2 separate regions of the Homo sapiens genome follow, and region 1 is linked to region 2. The links are contacts of gene promoters, found by promoter capture Hi-C in human tissues and cell types (Jung and others, 2019). All regions are on one chromosome and are shown on one strand. The core of a region is centred on a gene start or on the middle of the fragment in contact, and the rest is flanking DNA. Distances in the headings are between cores, read along the strand shown.

Region 1 (4,964 bases), core at 1,606-4,105, 42 kb after region 2:
ACAGAGTGTCTTAGGTACCAGAGACCACCTTAGAGAGGCCAACCTGTCTTCCACTGCCCCCACACCTTCCTGACCCCTTGGCCATGACTAAGCTGTCCTCTCCCCTCATCCCTAAGCTTGAGTTGGGAAAACTACCCCCATTGGCTTCTCCACCTCTTCCCCATACTGGGTCAAGGCAGCGCTCAGTGATTGTGACCTTTGGGAAAAAGACCTCACAAGAAACTAAACTATAATAAGAAACCCACAGACCCAAGCCTCATTTGAAGAGCCTGGTGGATGTGTGAGAAGGAAAACAGTGCAAGCCTGCTAACAGTGAGTGGAAAGGGGAGACACGTGAAGGCAGATGGCGTGTGCCTGAGCCTCAGGATCTGTACAAGCACCCTGCCCCATGGCCTGCCCCCAGGAGCTGCCTCCTGAGGTCCCCCTAAACTGCAATTGGCTACACCCCAGGACAGCCCCTTAGGTGTGGCCCTGCCCTGCCTGGCTTTAGTGGCATGCAGAGTCCACACTTATCTCCTCTCCAGGCGGGGTAGAGCCTCTGAGTAACAGTAAGGGACTGACTGTATGTGAGGCTGAACAGACCTGGCCCCGGGGCCCTGCACCTGCTGGCAGCTGCTGCCATTTGGGCCAGGTTCCTCCTGAAGGATGAGACTACAGTCCTTTTTAGGGAGAGATCTCAAACTGGTCATTTCACAGGATGACAAACCAGGCACATGTGTACACACACACATGTATACACACACCAACCTCTCCAAAAGCTCTTCAAAGACCTAAGGCTGACGTGGAGAGCCAAGTTTCAGGCACTGGGGGCGGAAGCAGGAGCAGAACTGACCCCGCTGTGCCACGCTGGGGGTCTTGACCTCCTCCAAGTCTGTGACGCCAGCTGAGAAGGACCCAGCTCCCTACAGCCCACCACCCAGCTGCACAGAAAGGCAACTCCGCATGTAAGGCCTGCCTCACCTCCACAGGGCTCTGGGGCCTGGGAGGGGTGTGGGGCAGGCTCCGGGTGCCCTGCCCTTCCTCCTGCTCATCTACATTAGGCCTACCTTCGGAAGCTTTCGCATGTAGCTGTCTCTGAGAATACTTTCTCCTCCTAGGAGCATCTGCCTCTCTGAGAGCTCGCTCACTGCCAGGAATTGGGCAGGCGGGAACTTGCTGGCCTGTCTAAGCAGGAGCTGCAACACACAACTCCACCATGGGTCACGCTCATAGGGGCAGCGAGGGGTGCAGCGGGAGGGCAGTGAGGCGGCGCAGTGGAGCACCAGGCACAAAGCAGGCAAGATTCACAGTATTTGGTGAAGGGACAAAGGAAGACAGGAAGGAAGGTGAGAATTAATGAAGTTAAAAAAAAGAGAGAGATTCTGGGCCCCAAGGAAGAGAGAACAAGCCAAAGGCCCGAGGAGGACCTGGAGGGGTACAACAGGGACAAATGCCCTCTCTGGAGGCACCGAGGAGCCCGGCCTGGTGAGTAGAGCTTATTTCTCAGTGGTGGTGGTGGGTGGGATGGAGGGAGTAAGGATATTAATTGGCAGAGCAGCCCCTCTACTTGTAGGTGACCAGCTCCGAACAAATTAGCAAGAGGGCCCTTAGGGGGCCAAGGCTGAAAGCTCTCTGCTTGCCCCCAGCCTCAGGGCTCAGCTACTGGTCTGGATGATTCCCTCACTGGAGAGAAAAGGCCAGAGTTCTTTGTCAGCACTACCTGGGGGGTCGGCTGGGTTGGTTCCACTGATGGCTGGAGAACCGCTGGCTGTGAGGACCCAGGGAGTTGGGTGACAGGAACTGTTGTCGCTGCATTTGTCTACATGGAACAAATCAAAAGACAGAATTGAGTGGGACTCCATTAGCTGGTGACGAGGGGGCAAACCCACAGCAGGATGAGTGATGTGCCCCTGCCTGTGAGGGGACTCCCTCGGGGCCTGCACTGGGCCTTCCCCTGTGGCTTCCCAGCCAACAAGCCTCAGGTTCAGGCCATCTGATCCCTAACCCGGCACCCCTGGGCTCGCTGGGTCCAGCACACTTGGGCACTGCCCTGACCTCCTTGGGGAGGGGCCCCGGTCACAGATCCCAAGGGGAGAATTTTACAGAGCGTTTGGTGGCTTTGCCATCCTTACCCTGCCTCCCGGGTTCATGTTAGGACTGTCCCTTTGAGGACTGCCGCTTCTCAGAGCTGCTTCTGTCCTTGCCAAGGATCCCTGCCCCGGACACCCCAGCACCACCCTAGAGGGCCATGGGACTTGGAAAGAGGGCCTGCTCACCAACCTCTGAGAAGGGGTTGAATTCCGCCAGGCCGCCCTGCGGGGCGTTGGTCAGCTGGGTCACAGAGGGATCCTGAGAAGGTGAAAAAAAGCCCTTAGACACAGTGGAGAAAATCCGGGCCAGGGGCCGGCAGGCGAGCCGGTGACGCCTGACTGAAGCAGGGCAGCTGATCACCCTCCCGGGACCCTGAGAAGCCTCTCTGGAAGGGTCCTGTGCCTGCCTCTGCCACACCACAGCTGCGGTCCCTTCTCCCTTCCCCCTTCCTGGAAAAGGTTCAGCCCAGAAGAGACCCAGAGCAAGCTTTACCCAGAAGCTTGAGAGTACACACCACACAGGCTCCTGTTGGTGCCCTATACAGATTCAAAATGGTTCATAGTATTTACCTCTAGGGAGTGGGTTTTTTTTTTTTTTTGAGGGGTGGGGTGCTGAGGGGCAAGTGAATGGGGTGGTGAGGGTAGAGACTTACTATTGACTTTATAACCTTTCTGTACTGTTTTACTTATTATTCATTTATTCCTCTTTTTTTATATTTTTTTATTTTTTCGAGACAGAGTCTTGCTCTGTCACCCAGGCTGGAGTGCAGTGGCGCAATCTTGGCTCACTGCAACCTTCGCCTCCTGGGTTGAAGCGATTCTCCTGCCTCAGCCTCCTGAGTAGCTGGGACTACAGGCGGCCGCCACCATACCCGGCTAATTTTTGTATTTTTAGTAGAGACAGGGTTTCACCATGTTGGCCAGGATGGTCTCAATCTCTTGACCTCGTGATCTGCCTGTCTCGGCCTCCCGAAGTGCTGGGATTACAGGCGTGAGCCACCATGCCTGGCCATTCCTCTTATTTTGTAAAAGACAGTCTAAGGTAGCCGGGTGCAGTAGCTCATGCCTGTAATCCCAGCACTTTGGGAGGCTGAGGCGGGTGGATCACCTGAGGTCGGGAGCTCAAGACCAGCCTGACCAACATGGAGAAACCCCGTCTCTACTAAAAATATAAAATTAGCCAGGTGTGGTGGCGCATGCCTGTAATCCCAGCTACTCCGGAGACTGAGGCAGGAGAATCACTTGAACCCGGGAGGCAGAGGTTGCAGTGAGCCCAGATTGTGCCATTGCTCTCCAGCCTGGGCAACAAGAGCAAAACTCCATCTCAAAAAAAAAAAAAAAAAAAAAAGTAGTCTAAGTTTCTAGAACAAAAACATGCTGCTGGCTGCCAGTACTGATTTTATTAAATCGGGCACACTTGCTAAGAGCAGAGATATGATGAGCTGAGGTGAAAATTCAAGAAAATGTTTCTGGGTTTCGGGGGTTTTTTAAAGTCTTTTCATAAAATCCAAGAATGTCCTCAGAACACAACCTTGTCTCCCTTTCCCATCTGATCTCTGCATGGGGCTCTGCCATCCTCTTTACTGTGCCCCTGCTGGCCTGGAACAGTTGTCTTCACCCTGCCCTGCCCCAAGAAGAGCTCCTCCACACCCTCCCCTTCCTAGTAACAGATGCAGGGCTCAGGTCCAGCTTCACAGCCATGCCTGGGCTCCATGAGGAACAGCCCTGAGGGTGGCCAAATTCAGGGCTGTTCCTGCCTGTGGAGACACCGCTTGGGTTCCACACCTCACCCCACACCCCTAATTATTAAACCAGATGCTCCCAAACTTCAGGCCCAGCCTCACCTCCACTGGAAGCCTCTGCAGAGCCAGTTCTTTTTTTTTTTTTTTTTTTTTTTTTTTTAAGACAGAGTCACGCTCTGTCACCCAGGCTGAAGTGCAGTGGCATGATCTCCACTCACTGCAGCCTCCGCCTTCTGGGCTCAAGCTATTCTCGTGCCTCAGCCTCCTGAGTAGCTGGGATTACAGGCGCCTGCCACCACACCTAGCTAATTTTTATATTTTTAGTAGAGATGGGGTTTCACCATGTTGGGCAAGCTGGTCTTGAACTCCTGGCCTCAGGTGATCCGCTCACCTCAGCCTCCCAAAGTACTGGGATTACAGATGTGAGCCACTGCACCTGGCCTCCAGTTCTTTTTTTTTTTTTTCCTTTTTCTTTTTTAGAGACAGGGTCTCACTCTGTTGCCCAGGCTGGAGTACAGTGGTGCAATCATAGCTCATGGTAGCCTCAAACTCCTGGGCTCAAGCATTCCTCCCACCTCAGCCTCCGGAGTAACCAGGACTACACACATGAGCCACCAGGCCTGGCTGATTTTTAAAGTTTTTTTGTAGAGATGGGGTCTTGCTTTGTTGCCCAGGCTGGTTTTGAAGTCCTAAGCTCAAGTGGTCCTCCCACCCTGGGCTCCCAAAGCACTAGGATTACAAATGTGAGCCACCTTGCCCTGTCCAGATCCAATTGTTAAATACAATGCTAATATTAGACATAGCCACAGAGTGACCCCCTCAGTTTACAGATGTAGAAACTGATATTCACCATGATCCTAGGACCCAAAATGGGAGCTCTCTCCTTACTCTGAATATTTATAGAGCTGAGGGTCAGCATTGAATATGTTCTCTGGTTTTATCACAGATACTTCCTCTTATCTCTTATCTTCCCACCTGAGCCACCAGTTCATAGAGGGTATGAATGTCTGACTGCCTCCAGGCATACAGCCAGAACTCACTGTGTCTGGACGGGCCTCATACTACAGCCTCCACCCCTTCCAACCTCCTCTGCGACAGACTGTGGCTATGTTCTTCCTGCTGAACACCACCTCTGCCCTGATGGCTCCTGCAA
Region 2 (5,052 bases), core at 2,239-4,738:
AAGCAAGCCCTGAGGCTTATGGGGGTAGGGAGGGAGAGCAGCTGGCAAGGGATTAGTGAAGGGAGCAGCCAGGGGCAGGGGGAGAAGCAGGTGGGCCTTGGGGGGACTCAGGGTACAGGAGGGGTCGGGGAGAGCAGGTGGATGTCAGCAGCATTTCAAGCGGCAGAGACTGGGTTGAGAAGAGTCTCCTAGGACCAAAGAACAGGCATAGCTGCTCAGGCCTTTGCGAGGGCGTTTTCCATGGAGTGGTGGGGACAGGATCGGGAAGCCAAGGGCTTGAGGATCCAGTGGGCTTGAGGGGCTTGAGGATCCAGTGAGGAGGCGGGGACAGAATGGACAACCTGTCCACCAGTGTGGCTGTGAAGGGAGGAGGAGCAGATGGAGGCAGGTGAGGGCTTGGTGTTGCAAAATGCTTTTTTTTTTTTTTTTTTGAGACAGAGATTCACTCTTGTCGCCCAGGCTGGAGTGCAATGGCGCGATCTTGGCTCACTGCAACCTCTGCCTCCTGGGTTCAAGCGATTCTCCTGCCTCAGCCTCTTGAGTAGCTCAGATTACACGCCTGGCTAATTTTGTATTTTTAGTAGAGATGGGGTTTCACCATGTTGGTCAGGCTGGTCTTGAACTCCCAACCTCAGGTGATCCGCCTACCTCGGCCTCCCGAAGTGCTGGGATTACAGGTGTAAGCCACTGCACCTGGCCTGTGAAATGATTTCTCATAGCATGTTCTAACATTTCACATGTACAACTTTGATTTTAATCCATTTGTAAAGCTTCAGTCACTGACTCCTATTGGGAACCTCCAAAGCACAGTAAAATTTCAGCTATCCAGGATTCTTGGCAAATGAGTCATTCTGGAAAACCAACTTTTATTTGGATGAAAATATTTGAAATATAGGATTTCTTTCTTTCTAAAAAAAATTTTTAATGAAAATTTTCAAATATATAAAAATAGGCCAGTGTTGTGGCTCACACCTGTAATCCCAGCACTTTGGGAAGCCAAGGCAGAAGGATCACTTGAAGCCAGGGGTTCAAGACCAGCCTGGGCAACAAAACAAGACCCCCATCTCTACAAAAATAAAAATTAAAAAATTAGCTGGGGGCTGGGCGCTGTGGCTCATGCCTGTAATCCCAGCACTTTGAGAGGCTGAGGTGGACGGATCACCTGAGGTGAGGAGTTCGAGACCAGCCTGATCCAAAATGGTGAAACCCTGTCTCTACTAAAAATACAAAAATTGGCCAGGCGCGGTGGCTCACACCTGTAATCCCAGCACTTTGGGTGGCTGAGGCGGGTGGATCACGAGGTCAGGAGATCAAGACCAACCTGGCAAACACTGTGAAATGCTGTCTCTACTAAAAATACAAAAAAATTAGCTGGGCGTGGTGGCAGGCGCCTAGTAGTCCCGGCTACTCTGGAGGCTGAGGCAGGAGAATGGCATGAACCCGGTGGGGGCAGAGCTTGCAGTGAGCGGAGACTGTGCCACTGCACTCCAGCCTGGGCAACAGAGGGAGACTCCATCTCAAAAAAAAAAAAAAAAAATACAAAAATTAGCCGGGCATGGTGGTGGGTTGGTGGGTGCCTGTAATCCCAGCTACTCAGGAGGCTGAGGCAGGAGAATCGCTTGAACCTGAGAGGAGGAGGTTGCAGTCAACCGAGATCCCGCCACTGCACTCCAGCCTGGGTGACAGAGTGAGACTTCGTCTCAAAAAAAAAAAAAAAAAAAAATTAGCTAGCAAGGCACGGTAGTGTGTGCCTGTAGTCCCAGCTCCTCTACAATCCTGCCATTGCACTTCAGTCTGGGTGACAGTGAGACCCTGTTTCAAAAAATAATAAAAGTAGAAGATATAAGGAACCCCTGCATCCCGCCATCCAGCTTCAGCACTTACCAACTCAAGGTCAATTCTGTCTCATCTCTACCCCACCTGCTCACCAACAAGCCCTGGAATATTTTGAAGCAAATCCCCGATGTTACAGCAATTCATCTGTAAAGCTTTTGTATGTTTCTCCAAAAGACACTTTAAAAACATAACCACAAGCCAGGCGTGGTGGCTCATGCCTTTATTTCCAGCTATTCAGGAGGCAGGAGGATCCTTTGAGCCCAGAAGTTTGAGTCCATCCTTGGTAACATAGGAAGACACCACCTCTCAAAAAAAAAAAAAAAGGCCAGGCGCAGTGGCTCACGCCTGTAATCCCAACACTTTGGGAGGCCAAGTCAGGCGGATCACGAGGTCAGAAGATCGAGACCACCCTGGTTAACACGGTGAAATCCCATCTCTACTAAAAAATACAAAAAATTAGCCAGGCATGGTGGCGGGCACCTGTAGTCCCAGCTACTTGGGAGGCTGAGGCAGAAGAATGGTGTGAACCCGGGAGGCAGAGCTTGCAGTGAGCCAAGATCGCGCCACTGCACTCCAGCCCGGGCGATAGAGCGAGACTCCGTCTCAAAAAATAAATAAATAAAATAAAATAAAAAATAAAAAACATAACCACAATACCATATTAGTTCTCAATTTTTTTTTTCGAAATGGATTTTTGCTCTTATCACCCAGGCTGGAGTGCAATGGTGCAATCTCCGCTCACTACAATCTCTGCCTCCCAGGTTCAAGTGATTCTCCTGCCTCAGCCTCCCAAGTAGCTGGGATTACAGGCATGCACCACCAGGCCTGGCTAATTTTTTGTATTTTTTTTTAGTAGAGACAGAGTTTCACAATGTTGGCCAGGCTGGTCTCGAACTCCTGACCTCAGGTGATCCACCTGCCTTGGGCTCCCAAAGTGCTAAGATTACAGACATGAGCCACAGTGCCCTAAAATTTTTAACAATTCCTCAATATAGTCAAATATCCATTGTTCAAAAATATCCATTGTTCAAATTTCCCCAATATCTTTTTTTTTTTTTGCAGTTGGGTTAAAATTTGGCTCCAAACAAGGTCTGCACGTTGCGTTTTTGTGCTGTCTCTAAAGACTCCCTTCTTTTTTCCATGTAATGCTTTTGTTGAGGAAACCAGGCTGCTTGGAAGGATGAGCCTGGGGGAATTCGGGAGAGGGAGAGAGGGGGCAGGGAGGAGAGAAGGATGGGTGTCCAGATAGATGTGCCATCCATGCTGGGGGACACAGGCAGAATGTGGAGGCCTGTCTCCCTAACTGGGAGGGGAGGCCAGGGCTGCTGAAGGGTGGGGGCCAACCCTGGGCACCCCCCCTTCCCCTCTGCCGCATCCAACTGCTGGAAGTGATGGGAGACAGAAAGATGGCCTGAGTCAGGAGCAGGGGCAGAGCTCAGGTTGTCGTGGGGTCCCGCTGCCCACGTCAGACTGGAGGTGAGGGATGGGCGGGGCCTGACAGCAGGCCTGGAAGGAACAGGATGTCTATGCTGGAGATAGAGGGAGAGGACAGTGCCAAAACCCAGCTCCTGGCCAGTCCCCAGCTCCTCCCTGCCTGGCCCTATCCCAGGATCCCCTCCCCGGCCTCCCAGCTATGATCTACCCCGGGGCCCAGACTTCAGGCGCCTTCACGATGCCGGCGGTCAGTGGTCCAGGTCCCTTATTCTGCCTTCTCCTCCTGCTCCTGGACCCCCACAGCCCTGAGACGGGGTGTCCTCCTCTACGCAGGTTTGAGTACAAGCTCAGCTTCAAAGGCCCAAGGCTGGCATTGCCTGGGGCTGGAATACCCTTCTGGAGCCATCATGGAGGTGAGGGGCAGGGGTGGGGACCAGCTATGCCCAGGGTCCCTCAAAGTGCTGGAGGGGCTGTGACTTGGTGGGGAGTGGGTCTGTCACAGCCATCCTCTGTCCAGGGTGGGGCAAGGCCTGGGACAGTGCCAGGCACCCCAGGACCCCTTCCAGGCTTGTCTCCTGCTCCACCGCCTCAACACCCCCCACCCCTGCCCAAGCTGTTTCTCCTCTGCCTCTCTGCTTCCCTGCCCCAGGACTTCTCTCTTCTCCTCTGCCTCTCCTTGGACCCCTGCCCTTCCTCTACCTCTGACCTGTGAACACACAGACACATGCTCACACACTAAGTCCCAGGCACACAGAAGGCAATGTGGACCAGCACAAACCTCCACTCTCCCGGCTCCATCCCAGCGGGCCTGTGGCTGGCCATGAGAACTGGGGGCTACCTGGAGGGAAGCATCCTCATCCCAGGTGAGTGGGCACCAGCCCTTCCCTGTATGTGTGTTGTGGGTGGAAGCAGGCATGAGAGCATCTTAGCCCATAGGTTTGTATTCAGGGACTTCCAAACCCAGACCTACAAAGAGTGTGTCTTCTACCAGATCTTGTTCAAAAAAGGGTTTGTGATGATGGAACTACACGATAGAGGGAGTGAGCAAGAACAATGAGGATTAGAGTGGAGCGTGAAATAGTCTAGGAGCATGGCTTCCAAAACATATGCTGTGAGGTCTGTCCACCTGAGAGTTGGGCCATGGATTTAATTCTGAGCCTCTTAGCAGGCAAAGCAAAGACAGAAAGCAGATCGGCTGTGGATTTCTGTCTATAAAATGTGAGTTCTTGGCCAGGTGCAGTGGCTCACGCCTGTAATCCCAGCACTTTGGGAGGCCAAGGCGGATGAATCACGAGGTCAAGAGGTTGAAAACCATCCTGGCCAAAATGGTGAAACCCTGACTCTACTAAAAATACAAAAATTAGCTGGGTGTGGTGGCGTGCGCCTGTAGTCCCAGCTCCTCAGGAGGCTGAGGCAGGAGAATTGCTTGAACCTGGGAGGCCAAGGTTGCAGTGAGCTGAGATCCTGCCATTGCACTTCAGCCTGGGCACAGAGCCAGACTCTGGCTCAAAAAAAAAAAAAAAAAAGATGTGAGTTCTGAGAAATGGCACGATTCCTAACTAAAGCCAGGACAAAATATCCCTTTTTTTTTTGTGAGATGGAGTTTCACTCTTGTTGCCCAGGCTGGAGTGCAGTGGTGTGATCTTGGCTCACTGCAACCTTCACCTCCCAGATTCAAGTGATTCTCCTGCCTCAGCCTCCTGAGTAGCTGGGATTACAGGTGTGTGCCACCACACGCAGCTAATTTTTGTTTTTGTTTTTGTTTTTTTTTTTTTGAGACGG

What was found. The method cuts DNA at HindIII sites, captures the fragments that hold promoters and counts their contacts. A contact is called where the count stands out against the background at its distance.
Region 1: a contact is called between a fragment that was not itself captured here and the fragment with the promoter of LMAN1L in region 2, in 2 of the 25 tissues and cell types used here (neural progenitor cells and small bowel).

Annotation. Positions count from the first base shown.
Region 1 is chr15:74,852,322-74,857,285 of GRCh38, forward strand. It overlaps SCAMP2 (secretory carrier membrane protein 2), which reads right to left. Exons shown (of 9, transcript NM_005697.5): 2 at 2,260-2,328; 3 at 1,700-1,798. Among named protein-coding and RNA genes, the nearest start is that of ULK3, 12 kb to the left of the region's middle. RefSeq lists enhancers at 4,066-4,135, 4,882-4,964. The HindIII fragment of the contact is 4,540 bases long and covers 586-4,964 here.
Region 2 is chr15:74,809,347-74,814,398 of GRCh38, forward strand. LMAN1L (lectin, mannose binding 1 like) reads left to right here and starts at 3,489. Exons shown (of 14, transcript NM_021819.3): 1 at 3,489-3,683. The coding sequence starts at 3,509. The HindIII fragment of the contact is 6,905 bases long and covers 1,380-5,052 here.